Linked DNA regions of Homo sapiens: region 1 is linked to region 2. The links are contacts of gene promoters, found by promoter capture Hi-C in human tissues and cell types (Jung and others, 2019). All regions are on one chromosome and are shown on one strand. Each heading gives the region's core, a stretch centred on a gene start or on the middle of the fragment in contact. The rest is flanking DNA. Distances are from core to core; before and after follow the strand shown.

Region 1 (5,619 bases), core at 2,832-5,331, 35 kb before region 2:
GTTCACTCTGATGATAGTTTCTTTTGCTGTGCAGAAGCTCTCTAGTTTAATTAGATCCCATTTGTCAATTTTGGCTTTTGTTGCCATTGCTTTTGGTGTTTTAGTCATGAAGTCTTTGCCCATGCCTATATCCTGAATGGTATTGCCTAGGTTTTCTTCTAGGGTTTTTATGGTTTTAGGTCTTACATTTAAGCCTTTAATCCATCTTGAGTTAATTTTTGTATAAGGTGTAAGGAAGGGGTCCAGTTTCAGTTTTCTGCATATGGCTAGCCAGTTTTTCTGACATCATTTATTAAATAGGGAATCCTTTCCCCATTGCTTGTTTTTGTCAGGTTTGTCAAAGATCAGATGGTTGCAGATCTGTGGCGTTATTTCTAATGCTTCCGTTTGGTTCCATGGGTCTATATACCTGTTTTGGTACCAGTACCATGCTGTTTTGGTTCCTGTAGCCTTGTAGTATAGTTTGAAGTCAGGTAGGGTGATGCCTCCAGCTTTGTTCTTTTTGCTTAGAATTGTCTTGACCATATGGGCTCTTTTTTGGTTCCATATGAAATTTAAAGTAGTTTTTTCCAATTCTGTGAAGAAAGTCATTGGTAGCTTGATGGGGATAGCATTGAATCTATAAATTATTTTGGGCTGTATGGCCATTTTCACAATATTGATTCTTCCTATCCATGAGCATGGAATGTTTTGCCATTTGTTTGTGTCCTCTTTTATTTCCTTGAGCAGTGGTTTGTAGTTCTCCTTGAAGAGGTCCTTCACATCTCTTGTAAGTTGGATTCCTAGGTATTTTATTTTTTTTGTAGCAATTGTGAATGGGAGTTCACTCATGATTTGGCTCTCTGTTTGTCTATTATTGCTGTATAGGAATGCTTGTGATTTTTGCACATTGATTTTTGTATCCCGAGACTTTGCTGAAGTTGCTTATCAGCTTAAGGAGATTTGGGCTGAGACGGAGTTTTCTAAATGTACAATCATGTCATCTGCAAACAGAGACAATTTGACTTCCTCTCTTCCCATCTGAATACGCTTTATTTCTTTCTCTTGCCTGATTGCCTTGGCCAGAACTTCCAATACTATGTTGAATAGGAGTGGTGAGGGAGGGCATCCTTGTCTTGTGCCAGTTTTCAAAGGAAATGCTTCTAGCTTTTGTCCATTCAGTATGATATTGGCTCTGAGTTTGTCATAAATAGCTCTTATTACTTTGAGATACATTCCATCAATACCTAGTTTATTGAGAGTTTTTAGCATGAAGGGGTGTTGAATTTTATGAAGGCCTTTTCTGCATCTATTGATATAATCATGTAGTTTTTGTCGTTGGTTCTGTTTATGTGAGGGATTACGTTTATTGATTTGCGTATGTTGAACCAGCATTGCATCCCAGGGATGAAGCTGACTTGATCATGGTGAATAAGCTTTTTGATGTGCTGCTGTATTAGGTTTGCCAGTATTTTACTGAGGATTTTCACATCGATGTTCATCAGGGGTATTGGCCTGAAATTTTCTTTTTTTGTTGAGTCTCTGTCAGGTTTTGGTATCAGAATGATGCTAGCCTCATAAAATGAGTTAGGGGGGATTCCCTCTTTTTCTATTGTTTGGAATAGTTTCAGAAGGAATGACACCAGCTCCTCTTTGTACCTCTGGTAGAATTTGGCTGTGAATCCATCTGGTCCTGGACTTTTTTTGGTTGGTAGGCTATAAATTACTGCCTCAATTTCAGAATTTGTTATTGGTCTACTCAGGGATTTGGCTTCTTCCTGGTTTAGTCTTGGGAGGGTATATGTGTCCATGAATTTATCCATTTCTTCTAGATTTTCTAGTTTATTTGCATAGAGGTGTTTATAGTATTCTCTGATGGTAGTTGTATTTCTGTGGGATCAGTGGTGATATCCACTTTATCATTTTTTATTGTGTCTATTTGATTCTTCTCTCTTTCCTTCTTTATTAGTCTGGCTAGCAGTCTATCCATTTTGTTGATCTTTTCAAAAAACCAGCTTCTGGATTCATTGATTTTTTAGAGTTTGTGTGTCTCTATCTCCATCAGTTCTGCTCTGATCTTAGTTATTTCTTGTCTTCTGCTAACTTTTGAATTTGTTTGTTCTTGCTTCTCTAGTTCTTTTTATTATGATGCTAGGGTGTCGATTTTAGATCTTCCCCACTTTCTCCTGTGGGCATTTAGTGTTATAAATTTCTCTCTAAACACTGCTTTAGCTCCAACCTAGCATGACAGGCCAACATTCAAATTCAGGAACTACAGAGAACACCACAAAGATACCCCTTGAGAAGAGCGACCCCAAGACACATAATTGTCAGATTCACCAAGGTTGAAATGAAGGAAAAAATGTTAAGGGCAGCCAGAGATAGAGGTCGGATTACCCACAAAAGGGAAGGCCATCAGACTAAGAGCGGATGTCTCCACAGAAACCCTGCAAGCCCGAAGAAAATTCTTTTCTTCATTCTTAAAGAAAAGAATTTTCAAATCGGCCAAACTAAGCTTCATACGTGAAAGAGAAATAAAATCCTTTACAGTCAAGCAAATGCTGAGAGATTTTGTCACCACCAGGCCTGCCTTACAAGAGCTCCTGAAGGAAGCACTAAATATGGAAAGGAAAAACCAGTACCAGCCACTGCAAAAACATACCAAATTGTAAAGTCCATTGACACTATGAAGAAACTGCATCAACAAATGGGCAAAATAACCAGCTAGCATCAAAATGACAGGATCAAATTCACACATAACAATATTAACCTTAAATATAAACAGGCTAAATGCCCCCAATTAAAAGACAGACTGGCAAATTGGATAAAGAGTAAACACCCATCGATGTGGCATATTCAGGAGACCCATCTCATGTGCAAAGACACACATAGACTCAAAATAAAGGGATGGAGGAAGATTTACCAAGCAAATGGAAAGCAAAAAGAAAGCAGGGGTTGCAATCCTAGTCTCTAATAAAACAGACTTTAAACCGACAAAGATCAAAAAATACAAAGAAGAGCATTACATTATGGTAAGGGGATCAGTGCAACAAGAAGAGCTAACTATCCTAAATATATATGCAGTCAATACAGGAGCACCCAGATTCATAAGCAAGTTCTTAGATACCTACAAAGAGGCTTAGAATCCCACACAATAATAGTGGGAGACTTTAACACCCCACTGTCAATATTATATCAACAAGACAGAAAATTAACAAGGATATTCCCGATTTGAACTCAGCTCTGGACCAAGTGGACCTAATAGACATCTACAGAACTCTCCACCCCAAATCAACAGACTATACATTCTTCTTAGCACCTATTCTAAAATTGACCACATAATTGGTAGTAAAACAGTCCTCAGCAAATGCAAAAGAATGGAAATCACAACAAACAGTCTCTGAGACCACAGTGCAATCAAATTAGAACTCAGGATTAAGAAACTCATTCAAAACTGCACGACTACACGGAAACTGAACAACCTGCATCTGAATGACTGCTGGATAAGTAATGAAATTAAGACATAAGTTCTTTGAAACCAATGAGAACAAAGACACAACGTACCAGAATCTCTAAGACACAGCTTAAACTTTATTTTTTTAAGTTTATAATGTTAATTGCATCATGGTTTGTTATAATCTGTTGAAAATGGCCTAAATGTCTGCCAATAGAAGAACAGAAGCTGGAAAAAGTACAAAGTGATCCAACTTGTATGGACAGCAATTTGGCAATAATTGTCAAAATTACATATTCACTGTTTGTCTTCTAGGGCTTTTGTGACAAAATATCACAGTCTGGGTGGCCTAAATAACAGAAATTTATTTTCTCACAGTTCTGGAGGTCACAGTGTCAGGAGAATTGGTTTCTGGTGAGACCTCTCTCCTTGGCTTGCTGATGACCATCTTGCTGTGCCCTCATATGGTCTTTTCTCTATGACTCACTTTCTTGGTGTCTCTTTCTCTTCTTACAAATGTGACACCAGTCACATTGAATTCAAGCCCACCCTTATAACCTCCCTTAATCTTAACTCCCTCTTCATATATCCTATCTTTAAACACAGACAGATTGGAGGTTAAAGCTTTAACATGTGAATTTTGGGGGGACACAATTCAGCCCATGCACTCACTGTTTGATCTACAAATTCCACATCTATTTAATTTATCCCAAGAATATTCAGATATACTTTAATGCAAAAAAAGATATGTGTAAAAAATTATTTATTGAAGTTCTGTTTGTAATAATAAAATACTGAGAACAGCTAAAGTTGTCACTGGATAAATAAATTCTAATCTATCTTTTCAACGGAATGTAATGCAACCATTGTATTAGTCCATTCTCACGCTGCTATAAAGAACTACCTGAGACTGGGTAATTTACAAAGAGAAGAGGTTTAATTGACTCACAGTTCCACACGGCTGAAGAGGCCTCAGGAAACTTACAATCATGGCAGAAGGCAAAGGGGAAGCATGGTTGCAGAAAAGAGAGAACGAGGGGGGATCCGCCACACACTTTTAAACCATCAGATCTCATGAGAACTCCTTCACAATCATGAGAACAGAATGGGGGAAGCCCCGCCATGATCCAATCACCTCCCACAGGGTCCCTCCCTCGACACATGAGGATTACAATTCTAGACGAGATTTGGGTGAGGACATGTAGCCAGACCACATCAACCATTAAAAAGAAAAAGAAAACTACTTAAATGCAACGGTCTTCAAGAGTTATTGTTAGTGGGAAAAAGCAGGATACAGAACAATGTACATGACATCATTTGGGTGAAAAGAGAGGGAAAATATAGAAACATATATTTTGCTTATATATGCATCAGATATCTCTGGAAAGATGCACAAGGACCTGTTAACACTGGCTGTCTTCAGAAAGGGGAACTAGACTAGAGAGAAATTCTTAGATTCCTCTGGTACCATTTCAATTTTGAAAGGTTCTAGGGTGGAATTCGTTCCTTATCTCCAGCCCCTAGAGCTGCTTTCTTTGTGTTCTATCAGAGTGGCTACACCACTCCAATCTCTGCCTCAGTAGTCTCCTTGTCGACCCTTCTATGTTAATAATCCCCCTTCTTCTCTGATAAGAACACTTAGGATTGTATTTGGGGTCCATCTGGATGATGCAGGACAACCTCCTTAACTTAAAATCTTTAACTTGATCACATCTGCCATCTCTGCCACGTTTATAGGTCCCAGGGATTAAGCCCTGATATCTCTGAGGGCCATTATTCAGCCAATTGTACCTACCCTAAAAAAGTGGCTAAAGGAAGTTTACTGGTTCATGAATTGTGGAAAATGTTCCATATGTATATAATTTGTTAATAAAGGAAACCAGGTAGGGCTATGAGAGAATTCTCTGTACTATCTTCTCAATTTCTCTGTATCTTTGAAACTCTTTTTTAATGTCTATTAAATTGGAAAACATCAAACATGCAACTACCATAAAACCAAGGAATTGCGCTTCTGGCCATTTATCCCAGAGAAATGAATACTATGTCCACATAAAAACTTGTCCACAAATCTTTATAGCATCTTCTAATTAGTCTGTTGACACTCATTACACAGAAAAGAAGTTCCCCCCAAAAAGGTTGATTTGCCTTAACCTAAGCCTTCTGAATTTAGTGTATTCCATAAATAA
Region 2 (6,409 bases), core at 1,213-3,712:
CTGATCATTGTGGTTGCTATATATAGGTAACTTTACTAATAGGAATATTCAATTATTTCCATCTGCGTAGGACTTCCTAGTTTGCAAGGTATCTTTCCATATGACCTCATTTGAACTCATAACAGCTCTGAAAAGAAGACAGGATAGATTTCATTACAACTCTATAGATAAGGACATCTGACCAGGTCCCAATTTCAATGAGAGTCAGAAGCAGGAGTAGAACTTTGGCTTTCTTATTTCGAGTATCAGGAAAGAATTCAAGAAAGAACTGTGCATAAAGTAGGCTTAGCTATGCAGCAGAAAAGACAATCCCAATATCTCAATGGCTTAAAATAACAGGCGTTTGTTTCCTGCTCTCGTAAGTCCAATGCAGGTGGATTGACTTTCCAAGGCAACTGCCCTTCATACATCAACTGAGTGATACATCTCTTCCCTCTTGTAGTTGCCCTTTGCTCCTTGGTTGCACACAGGGGAAACAGTCTTGCAATGAAAATAAAACGCTTTGACCTAGGAATGATATGCATCCTTCTCGTCATAGCTCACAGGCCAGAACTAGTCACGTGGCCCTGCCTGATTGCAAAGGGAAATGGTATTTGTAAGTTTCCTGTGTGCCCAAGGCATGGATGAGCACTAAAACTCTCTCCTATATTGAATAAATTGGATTTGAAGGAGTAGGAAAAGGCCCCTTGAGGGCACTTATGAAAACAATGTAAAGAAACATACACAGAACACCTAATCTTTTTGAAAGCCTGGTGCTGGAGTCTCTCACAATAGATTTTTATTATTTTATACTGACAAAAGCCTGGTAAGGTAGACATTATCCCCTTTTTTATAGTTTTTGGTCATTGTAGTTCATGGAGGTTATGTAACCTGCCCCAGAGCTCACACTAAGAAGTGGAGGGAACTCTGATTCTCTTGCTCTTCCTTTTCTCCAGCTCTCAATTTCATATAATGATCTTTTCTTCCATCCCATAAGAGATTTAATTTTTAAGAGGAGCTTCTAGGGAGGGATACACAAAGGCTGGCAATGTTTTATTTTTTAAAGCTGGGTGGTGAGCACACAGATGTTTGTGCTCTTTTTATGTCTTAAGTGTTTCAAAATACAATCTTTTAAAAGGGGGTTGACAGAACCTGAGAACCAGTGATAAATTCTTCTTAAAAAGAGAAGCATTTTTAATGAATATTGGCAGCCAGAAAGTAGGACATATAGTATTGGTAACATTTATTGAGCCCATACTATGTCCTAGTTTTGGGTTTATTTGTTTGTTCGTTTGTTCCTTGAGACAGGGTCTCACTCTGTCACCCAGGCTGGAATGCAGTGGTGCAATCATGGCTTACTGTAGCCTTGACTGCCAGGGCTCAAGCCATCCTCCCACCTCAGCCTCCAGAGTAGCCGAGACTACAGATATGCACCACCACACCCAGGTAATTTTTAAATTTTGTGTAAAGATGGGGTCTCACTATGTTGCCCAGGCTGGTCTCAAATTCCTGGCCTCAAGTGATCCTCCTGCCTTAGCCTCCCAAAGTACTGGGATTATAGGCATGAGCCTATTTGTGCCTGGCCAGATAGTTTTAAATAATTTCTTTACATATTTTATCTCATCCTTCCAACAACCCTGTGAGGTAGATACTATTATTATCCCCATGTTAATACGAGATGAGAAAACTGAAACAAGTACAGATTAAGTATTTTACCTGAATCACACATTTATTGTAGGAAAAACCGGATTGGAACCAAGCATTCTGGCTTCAGGATACATACGCATGACTACTATCCTGGAAAACCTCCCCTAAGAGGTGGACGATGAACCAAATATGCAGAGGTGGATGAAACTCTTTTGTGCTTCTCCAGCAAAACGCGTGGTACATTCTCTAGACGTTTATGACCAGTTAAACAGGGAATTTAAAATAGTTTTCCCATGACAGAGAAAGACAAAGCGCTGGTGTTCTTGGCAGGAAATTCAAAGAAATATTTAAGGCAAGGGCTGACTCCCTTGGACCGGATGAAGGGGAAGAGCAGGTAATAATAGAGGGTTCTATGGATCGCAGAAACTTCCTGGGCAAGGAGGGTGGAGCTGGGGAGGGGTTTAAGAATTCCTGAAGGTCAAGCGATCTAGCCCAGCTGGGGTTTTCTCCTGCTTGGAGAGGGGTGCTATAAAAGCGCAGTTTGGGATTACTACTGTCGCCACTGCTCACCAAATTAAGTTATTCCGGGAGGGATCTTCTCGTCGCCATCCTCATTCCAACACACACCCATTGACACACTCGGGTTCGGCTGTGCGGTGCAACGAATTCCCAGGTGGGACACCCGAGCAGGAAGAAAGCCAGGCTGCGGGGCTGGGGGCGCCGCCCGGCCCGCGCCACAGTCCGCCTGGAGGATCACCGCCAGGGGGCACTCTCTCCGAACTCGGCCGCTCTGTCTCCTCCCCGGCGCGCTCCCTGCCCCTCGCTCCCCGCAGCCAGCAGAGAAGGCGGAAGCAGTGGCGTCCGCAGCTGGGGCTTGGCCTGCGGGCGGCCAGCGAAGGTGGCGAAGGCTCCCACTGGATCCAGAGTTTGCCGTCCAAGCAGCCTCGTCTCGGCGCGCAGTGTCTGTGTCCGTCCTCTACCAGCGCCTTGGCTGAGCGGAGTCGTGCGGTTGGTGGGGGAGCCCTGCCCTCCTGGTTCGGCCTCCCCGCGCACTAGAACGGTGAGTCTCCTTCAGGCGCCTCCTCCTGGCGGCCGCCGCCTCGCTTCCCAGCGGTCAGGGACGCCGCCCCCCGCCCCTTCGCTCTCGGCAGGTCGGGGACGCAGTCCCTGTCCCCTCGCTTCCCACCAGTCGGGGACGCCTCCCCTGTCCCTTCGCTTTTCACAGGTCAGGGACGCCGCCCCTACCCGCTTGCTTCCCACGGGTCGGGGACGCCGCCCCTGTCCTCTCGCTTCCCGCTGGTCGAGGACACCGTTCCCTGCCCCTCGCTTCCTGCAGGTCGGGACGCAGCCTCTGTCCCCACGCTTCCCACAGGTCGGGGACACCGTTCCCTGTCCCCTGACCTCTGCTCCCCAGGCCTCCTCTTCCTCGCTCATTCCACCCCCTAAAAAACCCCGCGTCGCCTTACTCAACCTCGCTCCCCTCAACTCCGCTTTTTCCCCTTCCCAGATAAGGAAATTGCCTCCTGCAGTTGTCCGCTCCTTGGAGCAAACACCTGCTTAAATTTTTAAAAAATCCTTTACGTTCCTGGCGACTCCGGCTGTCACTGTCATGGGAAAGCTATTTTTGGATTCCCTGTTGAACTCTATAGAAGTCTCAGGCAGCGAGTTTAAAAAAAAAAAAAGGCTCAGATGACACGAATGTTTTCTCCCCCGCCCCTAAACTCGGTAGTTCGAGCGATTGTTCCAGACGCCGGGTTGATAAAGCTGTTCCTAGTATTTGGCTTAAGGGGAACTCCAGCTGAGTTAGGACTGTCTTGAATGTGAACAGAAAGCACCTAAATAAAGTATTAGCAGCTTCGCTGTATGGTATTTAATTGTTTCTTTCTCTGAGAGCAGATTACTATTACTGAATGTCTTGTTACACAGGTTCCATGTAGAAACGAGAAAAACTGGTAAAGAAATTCTGTGTTGGCCTTGTGAACTTGGCCGCTATCATTTCATTCATTCTCCTTTGATTACTAGGGAAGGGAGAGGGGCTTTTCAAATTTTGAGGTTGAGTGTATAGGCAGGAACAATGTGGCCTCTTTTGTGACTCTAGGAAGGAGTCCGGCATGTGGTGGGTACAGGATCACATCAGAGTTTCAGCCTGCATGCACCACAATATTTCAGAATTGTAACATGAGCTCTTCTCTGTGATAAATTTGGGCATGTGATGCCGGTAAACTTTTGGACACTTAGATTTGGAGAGAAGTTCAAATCCTTGCCTCCTGGAGCAGAGTAAATAGTGCCCAGGAAGGGGAATGCCCCTTGAATTTGGATTCAAAGTTAAGGCACAACAGTTGAGTATTTTGCAGCATCTCTTGGCCATTGGAGTACATTTGTAGGTCTTCACACTTTAGAAATTTAAGAAGCTGGTAAACAGTTTCTGTTTCTAAAGCTAGTAGCACATTAAAGATAATTTCTCATATTTTCTTTACATGGTTTTACTTCAATAAGTTACATGTTTACTCGTATGAATTTCAGTTGACTTAAAATTGACTCATTTAAGACATAACTTGTTGACTTCTTTTAACTTGGCACATACCTCCTTAGCATCTGCCTTGGAGGACAAACTTTTTGTGGATTATCCTACTTCCCCCTCCCCCAAGACATGTTACAGTATTCTCTTTTGATTATAATGTACACCCAGATACTAATTCGTGAATTTAAGTCTTGATTTATGACAAGGCTGCTTTCAATACTACTCATTTTACGGCTGAAATAAGTTAGCAGTAGTTAACGTTCCACAATCTTTAAGGTAGTGCTTATCATACTAGATTTCGCAACTGCAAAAGGGGATTACAGTCAGGACACTCTTAACATACAAGTTAAGGAACAATTTATACTTTGTTCCATCCCTTCATTAATTCCTGTAGAAAGCCACGTAAGTATACTAGAATAGAGGCTGTAAGAAATTTTTATTTTAGGCCTGGCATAATGGCTCATGCCTGTAATCCCAGCACTTCGGGAGGCTGAGGTGGGAGGATAGCTTGAGACCAGCCTGGGCAATATGGCAAAATCCTGTCTCTACAAAAAAATACAAAAATTAACCAGGCTTGGTGGCACACACCTGTAGTCCCAGCTACTTGGGAGACTGAGGTGGGAGGATCACTTGAGCCCAAGAGGTGGAGGCTGCAATGAGCCATGATCGTGCCACTGCACTCCAGCCTGGGCAATAGAGCAGGACCCTGACAAAAAAAAAAGTGTGTGTATATATATGTATATATATACACATATATAAAATACATGTATATATGTGTATATATACACATATATAATATATACATATATTTGTATATGTTTATATGTATAATACATGTATGTATGTGTATATATACATATATACACGCGCGTGTATGTATACATATATACACGCTCGTGTATGTATACATATATACACGCGCGTGTGTATGTATACATATATACACGCGCGTGTATGTATACATATATACACGCGCGTGTATGTATACATATATACACGCGCGTGTATGTATACATATACATGTATATATACGTGTATACACGTATATATACATATATACATGTATATATGCATGTATACACGTATATATACATATATACATTTATGTATGTATAATACATGTATATATATATACATTTATGTATGTATAATACATGTATATATACATATATACATTTATGTATGTATAATACATGTATATATACATATATACATTTATGTATGTATAATACATGTATATATACATATATACATTTATGTATGTATAATACATGTATATATACATATATACATTTATGTATGTATAATACATGTATATATACATATATACATTTATGTATGTATAATACATGTATATATACATATATACATTTATGTATGTATAATACATGTATATATACATATATACATTTATGTATGTATAATACATGTATATATACATATATACATTTATGTATGTATAATACATGTATATATACATATATACACGTATATACATTTATGTGTATATACGTATATATACAAAGCACTTTTTGTTCTTCTCTTAGTGTTAGTTATCGTTATAATTAAGTTAGGTGATTTTTCCTTAAGTCATTGCAGTTCTTAAAACTAAAGGGACAAAATGTTTTACCAAAGAAAGAGGAAACAAAAATGCTAAGTGGCAGTCAAGAATTGTTTTTAACTTAATTTTCCCTTTATGTCTAGTTACATGAAACTAAATACTGTGGACTTAAAGGATAACTATATGAAAAAGTTTATTTGGAAAATAGAAAGCTTCTGGATTGCATCTTAAAGCGTGGAAAGTAATGTGAAACTTGAAGGCAAATAGATTTTGAACATGCTCACTTTTATGTGTCACACTGCATTCCCACAGTGGAGTTCCTTTTAAGGAATTATAACTGATTAGACAGATTTTCTTAGGAACACATTAGCTATAAAAGGTCTCTTCAGACCTAAAGACCTTCAAGCCTTTTGAACTGGACTGGAAGCAGGCAGTGTATAGACTATCCAATAAACTATATTTTAAACTGGACATTTGGGCAGAAAAGAAAAGATACACCTAGCTTCATAATTTCTGCCTTTGTCTTGTGGCCAGCACTTGGATATATGTCCTACACCAAATAACAAATACTAATTTCTCAAAAGTGATTTTACTTAAAAAAAAAATGGTTCAAGACTGAAATATACCTGATGTTGTCAAGCGTAGAGAAAATGGACTCTTGCATATATACTGTGCTTGTGTGAGTGGAAATTAGAATGTCT

The links. The method cuts DNA at HindIII sites, captures the fragments that hold promoters and counts their contacts. A contact is called where the count stands out against the background at its distance.
Region 1: a contact is called between a fragment that was not itself captured here and the fragment with the promoter of TRAF6 in region 2, in 1 of the 25 tissues and cell types used here (H1 embryonic stem cells).

The regions. Positions count from the first base shown.
Region 1 is chr11:36,543,713-36,549,331 of GRCh38, reverse strand. It overlaps a transcript of RAG1 not described here. Among named protein-coding and RNA genes, the nearest start is that of RAG1, 21 kb to the left of the region's middle. The HindIII fragment of the contact is 4,252 bases long and covers 1,956-5,619 here.
Region 2 is chr11:36,506,325-36,512,733 of GRCh38, reverse strand. It overlaps TRAF6 (TNF receptor associated factor 6), which reads left to right and starts at 2,462. Exons shown (of 7, transcript NM_004620.4): 1 at 2,462-2,686. It also overlaps a transcript of RAG1 not described here. RefSeq lists an enhancer at 2,594-2,643. The HindIII fragment of the contact is 11,968 bases long and covers 1-6,184 here.